2 separate regions of the Homo sapiens genome follow, and region 1 is linked to region 2. The links are contacts of gene promoters, found by promoter capture Hi-C in blood cells and fetal thymus (Javierre and others, 2016). All regions are on one chromosome and are shown on one strand. Each heading gives the region's core, a stretch centred on a gene start or on the middle of the fragment in contact. The rest is flanking DNA. Distances are from core to core; before and after follow the strand shown.

Region 1 (6,796 bases), core at 17-2,516, 440 kb before region 2:
AAAGTTAGACCTCCTTAAAGCGCTACTTTGTTTTCCAGTTCATTCCATACCCCATTTACATGATGTATAGTACATTATAAATATCAGCCAGAAATAAAGTGATATTTTAAAGGGACAAGGCATTCTAGGTTTAAAAACACAACTAAGGAATATCTTTTTTGTTTGTATCTACACTTCAGTAAAGGAAGTCCAATAATAATGACATATAAGCCAGTGGTGATTTAACTCATGAGCTACAGAGTTAGAGATGGGCAAACATCGTCATCAATTAGACATGTTTCATTCTATCACATGAATTGAGGAAGCACTTTATTAGCTGCAAATATAATTATATATATAAAATGTATATATACTTATATATGTACAAATTTTAAATGTTTATAAAATTTAAACTCAAATAGAAGCACATGTCCTCTAAAACAATGTAAACTGCAACCAAAATAAAAGGAAAAAAAACGGTGACAAGCTGAATATAAGCAACTATTTCCAGTTTTTCCGTTATAGTTGTTTTTACTTTATTAAGTAGTAGTTAACAAAATCAGACAAATTTATGGAAAAAAAAATTTAACATGAGAAAATCCCGTTGATTTTTTGGCAAACTGAGAAAATACTATCAATTGCTTTTTACCACAGCACATGTCAGTCTAGTTCACAGAACACCAGTGTGCCCAGGATGCATTTAGTGAGAATCACAAAGCGCATCCACTAAAAACCAATGCTATGTCTTATTACTTTTATAAACTGTACAGCTTTCCGAAATTTTAAGTCTGTTCTACTTAGTACCTTAGACTCCTCTCAGAATATTTACTTATACTTTCAAATCTAAACCACATTTGGTATCTAGCAATACATTTTCTAATCCGTAAAACAACACACAGCATATTACTTGGTTTCTGAAGTCTTATTTTACCTTTAACCCCCTTTAGTATCACATATGTGACTAATAACTTGTCCAGTGTCACAGAGCAGGAGCAAAGTCTTAGATTGTAATCTTATTCAATGTTTACTGTAAAAGCAACACATTCTTGTAAAAGATTCAAACCATGCAAAAATGAAGAAACTAAAAGTACCCACCATAGATGGTGGTGACAGTTGTGCAATGTGAGTGTACTTAATGTCACTGATTATACATTGTAAAATATTTAAAATGGTAAATTTTATGTGTGTTTTACCACAAGTTTAAAAACAATGTATATAGGATCATACAAAAATAGTCTTCTTTATATAAAATTATGTATGTGTAGGTAGGGGATTTGCATTCTGTGATACTGCATGTGCCTATAATAATTTATTTATTCAATGTGTGACTCAAGAGAATTTAGGTAGTTTCCAGATTTTCACCATAAAAGCAGAACATTCCTCTAAATAAAGTCTACACAGCTCATGTCCCTTCACTGCAACATAACTTGAATTCTGTTTTTACCACTGCACTATAAACAAGTCCATATTCTCTTTCCATGTGTTTTTTTTATTATTATTACTATATTAAAATTAGCCTCTTGAAATTTCTGGCATTTCACACAAACAACAAAGTTGTGATCTCTCTGTAACCAGCCACCATGGTTAATGGAGCTGTCATGAAGTCAATTCACAAAGTAAGTCTGAGGGACTTCAGAATCCTTTTTAGAATGAGACAGAGGAAGCACCTGCTTAGGGACAGCAATCTTTGTGGCAAGGCTGACACTGTTTTCAATTGATTAAGGAAGACTTTTTCATACCCCCCCAAAAACCTGAGGTAAGGAACTTTCTGCCAGGCCTCACCAAGATTTTTCTCTACAGAGCATCCTTGTGATGAGCATAGGTGATTGCTCTCTGCTCTCACCATCTGCAACATACCTGCCCCTCTTTTGTCTCTACTCCATCTTCTCCCCATGTGATTGATCCCTTAACGGTGGGTTCTGGATTTCACAGCCATCAATTTTTCTAGTTACTATCAAAGCTATGCATTCACAGAATTGTTGAAAAAACAAATTCTTAACCTAAATGAAAACTTCTCAGCCTTGCAAAATTGGTAAACACAAGTTCCCAGTGGGTTTTCAATAGTTGCTAATTTTACTTACAACATTTGGCTTGCTTAACACATTATTTAAAAGGGATTGCTTCAATTCATTTTGAAGGTCATTGTGTTTTTAATTTTCAGTGTTTAAAAAAGACAATTAAAGACTCGTTATCATTACCATCATTATAAACATCACATTCATCCTGGATGTTTTTAAAGAATGTTTACATGTTATCATTTTTGTCCCGATGCAAGATGAGAAGGGCATCTCCTCCATTATCTCCAGTTATACCAACTAGGACACAGAGCAATGAAAAGACTTCCTCAATGTCCTTCACCTTTTTAAGCAGCAAAATTTGTACCAGAACAGAGTCTTCTCACATCTAGACTAGAGCTCTTTAAACCACATTTCATCAAAAGCCATGTAATTTCAACTGCGCCTAATTATAAACAAATCACTTAAAGTTCTGAAAATTAAAAAACAACTTTAAAATAGTTTATAATTATTTGTACTAAGTTTGAGAAGCAGTTACTTAAACAGTCTAAAAATCATTTGGTGCCACACTCAAAATTTTCCTCATCATGTCCCCACTCCACTATCCTGTACTGACACCAGTATCTTTTCAGTTTTTAGGGAGGGATTCAGGTGGATATGGTCATCAGTGAGCAAACTGGGCTCCTGGAAGCAACTGTGGGATATAATCAGGCCTTGGTCAACTAAGAATATTCACAAATTATTGGGAGTTAAATGCATCCTTTTGATCATGGGCCCACTAATAACATGGTCTTTGCTGATTAATAAAAGCTCAGAGGCCACAAAATCAAGAAAATACCAAGATGCTGAAAACAGTTATTCAGATAAATAACTTTAACATTTAGAAAGCATAAAGCTTATTCAAATTAAATAGTGTAAATCACCATAATGTGAGAAAAACATTTAAATCAGCATGGGTTATACCTTGTTGGTGCATGCACACACATGTAGTCACACAAACACACACACACACACTTCCTCTTTCAGGGGAGAGAGAACATCAGACCACACAGTGCCTTCTATGAGATTAGGGGATGTCTGTGAAAACTAATCAGAATTCACCGTAGACATGCACCTTGCTCAGCTACGGAATGATGGTGGGAGCAGCAGGAGGCAGCAGTCCCCCTTTAATTAGTATGCAGAAACAGCTGGTGGACAATAAAAATAATGGGAGATCCAGAGTACAAGAAAAGCCTAGGGCAAATGGAGGAAATTCAGCTGGGAACATCATAAAGAATGATAATGAAGCACAAAGGACCCCTTGAAAAGGCAATGAGCAAACAGAAGAAATTAGGACAATGCAGTAAAATGAAGATGGGATTTCCATCTTAAAGGCAAGACATCAAACCTACAGTTAAGTAGCTTGTGGTAAGTATTTTCTTTCTTCATTACCTTAAGATGTTAGGCTAGTGTCTTATTTGGGAACTGAATTGATAGATGAATGTTTTTAACTACCCACATATGAGAAACCGACAGGAAAAGGTTAAAATGTTTTCAGCTGCAGAAAAAAATTGTTAAAATCAGTGCTACAACTTCCAAGAACAGAAGGCATTCCCAGCATGCATTCACTGGCCCACTTCACATCATGACACTGAGAGATGTTAGAAAGAGGTAACATTTCAAATATGACAAAGTCATGAGGGCCAGTCTCTTGTCACCTAAAAATCCTCAATTTGGGAAGTGAGCCAAATGACTCTATTAACTGTAACTATACCAGAATTCATCTGACGCCAATAATCCAAATGAGTATGAGGTAAATAAAGTATTTTTAACAATATTGTCTTCCCCTTGGTGCATTCCAAGTGCCTTTAAATTTATAAACTAAAACTAAAAGGAAATAAGAATACAACACTTCATATTTTAATACAAGTTTAACCACTAATATTTATTTAAGTACTATGTGCCAGATACTCTGATCAATAAAGTATCTCAGTTTAATCCTTACCTCACCTGGAGGGAATCTGCACAGTAAGCCTAGGACTTCAACACGGGTCTCAATGGTGCACCCGGAAAACTCAACTGCTATAACCAGTTTGAGAAATGTTTCCTGGTGTTCTCAGGCAGAAACAGGTGCCCATTCCCTACCCAGAGTTACAATGATTTACATGACCATTGACCTACCTCCCTAAAATAGTGCCCTGAGGGCAGGGGCTGGCTTCACTACCCAGCCCAGGCATAGTACTTGGCACAAGCTCCTTTCTGAGGCACAGGATGACTCCTGAGCCCACAACACCCAGCACCACCTCCACTGCAGGCCATACCACCCACAGCGGGTCAGTCAGGCCTACCAACTCCACCTCCAAATGTTCCGCTAATCCAGGGGCTGCAAAGTAGAAGCCTTCCCAAGCATCTTATCCTTTTCATTTTTAGTTTTTATGGCATCGGAATGTTCTTAGGCTGAACAGGCATGCCCCAGTACTCCAGAAGCCTCTTTACTCCTCGCTGGCACCACTTTTATAGCCCCGAGCCATGACCAGTCCCACCTGCTTCGTCACCAGGAAGAGTGCAGCTGCCTCCTTAATTCAATGCGTGGATTAAGGCACATACTCAATACATGATTAATTGAAATGCTTTCCAAACACAGGTTATGGGAGGATTTCTTGGTGACAGCAGAGCCATGGCGGAAAACAAATAGTAGTTCAGGTGATCCTACTTTTGTGGGAGAAAAGTGAAATAATGACACTATTTTTGAAAAGTACAAGCAATCTCCTGGCTACAAATCCTTTTCAGTCCTCTTCCTACTTACCACCAGCACATTTAGCCCTAGCTGATCCTTCTCCTGTAAAATCGCCTCTCTTAGAGTTTACAGCCACATTCTCCTTGAAGACTCCACAGCCATTGCTACCAATATCCTGGACTGGCTCCTCTTCCTCTGTTTTCATAGACACAGCTTCCACACAACTATCTGCCTATGAGATTACAACTGCTTCTTAACTAGAATCCCTACACCAGGGCTTCCCCTTTCCAGTTGAACAAGTACAGTGAGGCTGGAATTCTTTCTCTCAATCATAAATGTGTCTCCAGCGCCCCTCTGTCCAAACCTCAGTGCATCACTGTTGTCACGGCACCTCCCAGGACTATTCTACCTGCTACCTCACTGGTCGGAGCCATATCTTACCCTCTTGCTCATCTGTTCCAACTGTCCTAACATAGCACTTGTGTGCCCTATGATAAGATACAGATGGGTTTTAAATCATAAGATCCTCTACAAAGGTACAGCTCTAAAAGCTGCATTTATCTGGGCATTTGCTTATCTTTTCCAACTGTTATTCACTCTAAAGGTGATGTCCGTAAAACATTAGATTTTACTTGAAATAAGTTTGCATAGTACAAAATAAACTTATTTTATTCTCCTCTAGCTGCAGCAAGAAAAAATCAACCTCTGAATTAAGGAAAATAGAATTTAAATTGGAATTTTAGCATTAATCCAGATTTCAAACTGAATCCTCACAACCAGTTCTCTTAGATAATCCCATCTTTTCCCTCAATGATAATTCTGTCTTCCAGTTTCTGGACAGCAGCCCCATCCCCCTCTTGCACTACTATAAACACACAGAGCTGCATCTTCTGGTGTTTACCAGTGTTCCATGAACTCTGCTGGTGCTCAATAAATATTAATTGAATTCATCCTTTACTTGAATGTCAGAGGCATTAGCTGATCATAATCTATTTGCACAAATAAGAAAAAATGTCAAAGAGCAACATGAGATTTTATGTATTACTAATCTAGTTTAAGGCAGATAAGAATGTGGCAAATGGCTGTTTTTCATTACCATTTTTGACTGAGCATGAACCTTCTACCTGTAGTACACCCTTGCTACAATGAAAACTCCCAAATCTAATTCTTCTTCCATAACTAGTGAAGCGTCATCATAACCAGTGATGAAATTAAAGTGGAAACAGCACTGTTTAAAGAAGGCTGCGTCCATGATATGAAGTGATTCTCTCCTTAATGGCAAAACTCCTTAAAGCTTTCTAAATTTTCACGTTGATCAAAGAACCCTTTTTATTTTCTACTCAATAAGCCATTTAAAGTTTTCTCCTTAATTTTTATTATTACTTGGAATTCCTTTATATTAAAACACAAGACTTGATTTGTAACATCAACTCACATGTCTTATTTTAGTAAATTCAAGTCACAAATGTCCATTTGAAGCATATTAAACTTTTCAAGCTTTAAGTTGTTTTCAATTTGTTTAAGTGTGCCTGAGAGCTAACTGGAGCTATTTATTTTTATTTTTCAGTTAATTTTTTATACAGTTAAATAGTATTTAGGCTAATTTGCTAAAATGACTAACATGGTCTTAAAAGATAATCCTAATCCTCTTACTGTATTTGGCCCTCCCTTTTCAAGCCACTACCAAATGCCAGTCTACTGTGCCAGCAGGGAAATCTACTACACATTTCTACAAACCAGCCAACTTTTGATCAGGGGATTCTCTTATGCACAGGCACTATGATGCTCTGTAAGGGGAAGAGCCCCATGGTGCTACTGTCTTTCAGAAGACACCACACACACATGCACACATGTGTACACACACACACGCACTCTGATTTAGAGCTATCTGAAATAGCTGAGAAGTGGTATAAGGAGGAAGCTTTGTAGAACTGATTGTTTAAAAAATAAATATATATCAAATCACTGCACCATTTTATGGCCTCAAAAAATAAGAAATATATAAATATGAAACCAGATTGTATAACCAAATTTCTTTCTAAATGTTTAAAATGGTGATAAACTAGATTCCTGAGGCCACCCAATT
Region 2 (5,893 bases), core at 1,610-4,109:
AGGATTAACTAAAGATATAGGTGTAACTCTTACATTTCCTTTCAGTGTCAACTCGTGGCAAACAAAAGGAATATCTGTTTTACAAACTGAATGCTGCAGTGTCTGTTTCACTGTGTATGAACATTAACTAATGTGTGAACATTAGTTAATGTACTAATTAGAAAACTCTAGTACATTAGAACTGCTGCTTCTCAAGGAAGCTTGCACTTCTTTCAAAGCCAGGTCATTTTATTTGGTACATCTATCTAGTACATTAGAAAAGTCTAATAGAGTGCTAGTCCACAGTTCACCAGCATTCTACTAGACTTTTCACAGAAGTCTGAAATTTAAAAAAGAAATGTTTGATTTGGGATTTAAGCAGTCAATTATACTCTTACTACACAGTCTAAAATTAAAGAGATAAAAACTAAGTATTTATATAGCAATTTTTGTCTGCGGTGGCCCTAAGCATGTTTAAATGATTAGGGCTTGCTTTGCTATTAATTACTTTACAGCTGGAGATACTGAGATACACAGGTTAAGTGGGTTCTACAAACTAATGTCATGAGTCATCATAAGAGTTCATATATTCTGACTAGAAATTCTAGTCTTCTGCCTGCTGTCCACCACAAATCCCTATTTAATTTATAAGAGCACAGGAACCAACTCACTAAAAATACCAGCAAGAATTTGTAGGCATTTACTTTTTTAAAATGAATGTTTACCTAAAAATAAAAAGACCTGGCTTTTTATTTGAAGGAAGTGCAAGCTTCCTTGAGAAGCAGCAGTTTCTTTATTTGCATTTGAAAAATCATTTTTAAAAAATCTTAAAAGCTGATGAGTGCATCACCTCTTACCATACACAATTGCTAGTTCTTCTCAAAGAAGTGTGGTTTGATGACACCAGAGCCTCCTAGTTTTACTTTAAATCACTTTGAATAAGGAACTACACTTTTTTTTTTGCCTTGGTATTTCCCTTCTTAAAACAGAAACAGAAAACTTAATTCCTACCTGACACAGACAACATAAGGAAGAATTTGTTTGTGGACTGCTTTGAGATTCCAGAACCAAATACATAATCCAGTTGATCTTCAACCCTACAATAAAGACAAACTTCACTAAACATAATTGCTTCAGCAGATGCCTTCAAAATAAGATACTATACCATTATTTATGGAAAGAGAAGTTTTATTTAAGCCAAATCTTGATCACAATGCAATGGAGGAAAAAAATTACAAAACCGTTTAGAAAGTTCTTCTGCTCAATTAAAAAATTTAATACTTCTCACGTATGTCTCCTATAAGCACACTAATTCTAAAGGTAGCAGAAATTGTATGCATTTATTAGAGAACAGAGACTCTCAGGAAAATTATGCAATCAATTGCAATAGCAAATGTATAAAACAAATTAATAATACATTTTAAAAAAGAAATTCTGTTAAATTTCATTTAAGATTAGTTCTTGGACAGCTACACCTAATGGAGGACAAGAAAATTTCCAAATTTTAAGTGTATGTTTGTAGGTCAACCTTTAACAAGTCTTAACCCATTATAGTTTCATTTAGTCTGTACTCAAGTTGCTTTCCCAGGCATGCCAGGTAAACATAATTCTTAAAAATTAAAGCTTTAATCAGTAAGTGTAACCGATTTGTTGCTACTGTCACTCTTTTGATGATACTTCCACCAACCGGTAAAGAAAGAAGAAATGTTATTAAACTGGAAGATGAACTAGAAACATTGAGTGGATACCTAGCTTAGGCAGAAAGCAGCAAGGACTAGAAGGGTATGTCACAAAGAAGTCTTCAGAGATTTAATAAAAAGTAAAACAAATGGAATGAAGTTAAGAGGCTTGACTTATACAAATGGGGGGGGGAGGGTGGAAGAGTTTTGGAGGGGAAAAAATTAAGATTAGAGACTCACTGGGTGCAGAATGGAAAAGGACGTGAGGATAGGGGCCATTAGACAGAAAGCGATGAAGCAGGGTACCAGAGGAAAGAGAAGGCAGTGAGGGTTTCCGAAGCTAAGATGGGGCATGGAATGAACTCCAATGCAAAGCGATGCTAAAGCAAAACACAATCGGCAACTAACAAAAAGGGAACCAGGAGGAAGTACCGAAAGGAGGTGGATGAGAGGAAAATAAAACCAAGGAAGAAATTATGGAGGTAACAAGAGTGAGAAACCTGGTCGGCCAGGGTAAGGAGCTCCGGACAGGGAAGAGCCAGGCAAGGGATGGAAGCACAGAGATACGCTGCTTCCCAAGGAGGGACCACCCGGGCAAAAAGACACGTGGGAGGCGCGGGATGAAAAAGCAGAACCACGAAAGCGGGTAAAGGAGGGACAGAGCGACGAAGATGGAGCAGGGGTGAAGGGCAAACACGCTAGGCGCGAGGTTCAGGAAGAACGGGTCGAGGGACGCGCGCAGGGGCAGGGGCGGCCGCGGGCACCGGGAGAGCAGCGCGCCGCGGCCCCTCGCCTCCCTCAGAGCGCTCCGCACCGCCGTCCCCACCGACCTTCAACGGGGCCGGGGCCAGGCTCCGACCGCCAGCAGTCGGGTGAGGGGCCGCGGCGGGCGAACGGCGGACGAAGAGGAGGCCGCTTCCTTCCTGGCCCCTGGGCAAGAGGGACGGAGGGAGGGGTCGTGGGTGTCGGGAGCCGGGGGAGCCAGAGGGGACAGTAAGGGGGTTACCTCTCGCCCGGCTCGGCCTCTTCCCCCGCCTGTCGAACGGAGGAGCTCGTTGTCCAGCTGCAAGAAGACGGCCCGACCCGGGTCAGCACCATCCCGCCCCGGGCCCCCTCACATCGCCATCACAGCAACCGCAAACACCGCAACCGCGGAGCCGGTTCGTCACCGCGGCTCGGCTACTGGCCCAGCGCGGCCAGCGAGCATGCGCAGTCGCCCCAGTCCCGAGGGAGCCCGGGCCAGCCGGCTATACCTGCGATCAACAGGTCCCCGGCCGCACGGCCCCGCCCCCGGCCTCTCTCACCTCCTCCTCCCGCCTCTTCCCTCCCCTCTCTGAGGCTAGGCCCCGCCCCTTCAAGCTCCGTGCCCCGCCCTTCAGGAGCTTCAACTGCCCCTCCAGCTCCAGCGCCAACTGAGATTTCGAGAGATTTGTCCTCCCTACCAGGCTCCCGTTCCCAAGTTCCCGCGAGAACGGGAGGTTTGCGTCAATAAAAGGCGCGCGTCAAGAAAAGGGGCTCGCTTGTGGGTTTAAGGGATGGAACTTGGAGGTGGTTGAAGAGTAGTGAACAAGAAGAGGGCAAAAACACGGAGTTCGAGAACTTTAGCCGTTTTTCTCACAATGTTGTTTCTCCTTTTCTCTCTTTAGCTCCTCCGTGCAGTCCCGGGTAGAGAGCCCGGTCCCTGCGCTAGTCGATTTGTGCAGTAGGAAAGGAGGCTGCAGGGGATCTGCGCCGGGGCAGGACAGATGCCTTTCGGGACCCAGTGTTTGCATCTTGGGAGATGTGGGTGCTGATCTGGTTGTTTCTTGGTTTATGACGCCAAAAAGGGCGGGAGGGGGCTGATGAAGTGAAGCCTTTCGCTAATACATTCCGTTAACAGAAGCCCACGAAGGATCATTGATTTATTTCACTCTTCCCTGTTTCTGAACCTTATCTGGCAAAAACTTTTGTGGTGCATAAAGTTCAGTATGTTGCTAAAGCTGAGTTAATGAAAGGAAAATTTCAGCTGCGACTCTTGTTTTAAAAATGAATCTAGGATGGATAGTGGTGTTGGTTGCACAACAATGAATGGACATAATGCTACTGAACTGTGCACTTAAAAATGGTTAAAATGGTAAATTTTCTGTTATGTATATTTTACCACAATAAGAATGAATTAGAAGGGAAAAGCTTTGTGCATTCATTTGAAAGTAATGGTGAGGTCTTGTAACGTAGGCCATTTAGGGGACAGGTTTTGAATATATCTTTGTACCAGTTTTTTTTTTTTTCGAGTGTGTGTGTGAGACAGAGCATTGCTCCGTCGCCCAGGCGGGAGTGCAGTAATGTGATCTCGGCTCACTGCAACCTCTGCCTCCGGAGTTCAAGCAATTCTCCTGTCTCAGCCTCCCTAGTAGCTGGGACTACAGGCGCACACCACCACGCCTGACTACTTTTTGTATTGTTAGTAGAGACGTGGTCTCACCATATTGGTCAGGCTGGTTTCGAACTCCTGACCTTAGGTGATCCACCCGCCTTGGCCTTCCAAAGTGCTGGGATTACAGGCCTAAGACACCGTGCCTGGCTTGTACCAGTTTTTACATGATTGGGTGTCCTCTTATCCTGTGAACCAATTTATTTGCATTTGTATGAATGGCCTGCTTTCCTGATTTCTAATTTGTCCCTTCTTTTATAGCCCTATACCATTTTACTATCCTTGCTAAACAGGCTTTTATTGCTTGTTTTGTGACTTGAACTTTAGCCTCAAAATTGGAAAGGCTTTTTCTGTTTTTTTTTTAGTTCCAGCCATGTCTTAGGAAAATATAGTAAACAACCAATTATTTGCATTTCCACGTCCGTGCATCCCTAAAACACACAGTGTGCCAAGATTCTTTCCCTGTTCCACGTTCTTTTTATTCAAATCACATTGTTAACTCATCTGCTGTGTGCCAGGCAGTGTGCTAATCTTGGAAGATACCAACATGAATGAAAAAGAACTTGGGTGGAGTGTTTGCATTATTACCCTATGATGTAATGTGTATAGTGCAGAGATAAATGCACAGAGAGCTATTGAAGCTCAGAAGAAGCATTAATCCAACTTTGGGAAGAGGTCATGGGTCAGGAAAAACTTCCAGGAGAAAATGATTCCAGAGAGTTGAAGTGGGATGTCTTGTGGTGGCGGTTGGGAGGAGTAAAGGGAAAAGGATTGCTTGAACAGAAGCTGTACAGTAAGAAACTGGTCTTTGTGCTGAACTAAAACTAAGACTTCTATGCCACTGTTTAGGGATGTGAGGCTGGAGAAGTTGACAAGGATCATGGTGAGCCTTCAAAAAAAGTCAAATCAGTTCAACCATTATATATATATATATAGCTTATTAGATATTTGCCAAATACTGTGCTAGTTACTGAGGGATATAATGAAAGTTAAGGGTCAGTCTAAAATCTCAGAGTTTGCAATCTAGCAGGGGTAGACAGGCATGTAAAAACAAAAAAAAAACAAGTTCTGCTACAGAGTTAAAATTGGGGTAGGTACGGGGTTGTCTGGGAACCCAGAAGAGGAGCACTTAACTAACCTAGAGATTTAGCAGGACTTCCTGGTAATTATCTATTGATAGAAGAATATAAAATAATCTCTTAAAGAAATAAGAAAATTCACCTGGGGTGGCTCACTCCTGTAATCCCGGCATTTTGGGAAGCCGAGGCAGGCAGATCACTTGAGGTCAGGAATTTGAGACCAGCCTGGGTTTAGTAGAGAAACCCCATCTCTACTAAAAATAAAAAAATTGCCGGGCGTGGTGGCAGGCGCCTGTAATCCCAGCTACTCCAGAGGCTGAGGCATGGGAATCACTCGAACCTGGGAGGTGGAGGTTGCAGTGAGCCGAGATCGTGCCACTGCATTCCAGCCTGGGTGACAGAGTGAGACTCCATCGCAAAAAAAACCAAAACGAACAGCAACAACAACAACAAAAACAATAAGAAATACGAAAATTTATGGCATCTACTGAGGTACAGACTACTAGAGAGTATAGCATACTGATCTAATTGTCAGATTACCTGGTTCTAATTCTAGAGTCTACAGTATACTGTGTTATCTTGAGAGTCTCTTATCTTCTCTAGGTCTGTTTTCTCTCAAATATAAGAAGATAATCACATTATATAGACTTTGAATTCCTTTAGAAATTTGTCTAGAAATTTCCTGATTCTAAATTTACTTCCCATATTTATCTTCCCAAGTTTGGTGTCACCCATTATGCTGCTAA

The links. The method cuts DNA at HindIII sites, captures the fragments that hold promoters and counts their contacts. A CHiCAGO score of 5 or more calls a contact.
Region 1: a fragment that was not itself captured here is called in contact with the fragment with the promoter of FAM135A in region 2 in 2 of 17 cell types (monocytes and activated CD4 T cells); the score reaches 5.2 in monocytes.

The regions. Positions count from the first base shown.
Region 1 is chr6:70,844,105-70,850,900 of GRCh38, reverse strand. All of the region lies in intron 7 of SMAP1 (small ArfGAP 1), which reads right to left. Among named protein-coding and RNA genes, the nearest start is that of B3GAT2, 110 kb to the left of the region's middle. The HindIII fragment of the contact is 3,251 bases long and covers 1-2,891 here.
Region 2 is chr6:70,410,474-70,416,366 of GRCh38, reverse strand. FAM135A (family with sequence similarity 135 member A) reads right to left here and starts at 2,859. Exons shown (of 22, transcript NM_001162529.3): 1 at 2,665-2,859; 2 at 991-1,076. FAM135A-AS1 (FAM135A antisense RNA 1) reads left to right here and starts at 2,409. Exons shown (of 2, transcript NR_147708.1): 1 at 2,409-2,530; 2 at 3,305-3,539. RefSeq lists silencers at 2,343-2,492, 2,833-3,052. The HindIII fragment of the contact is 2,225 bases long and covers 1,605-3,829 here.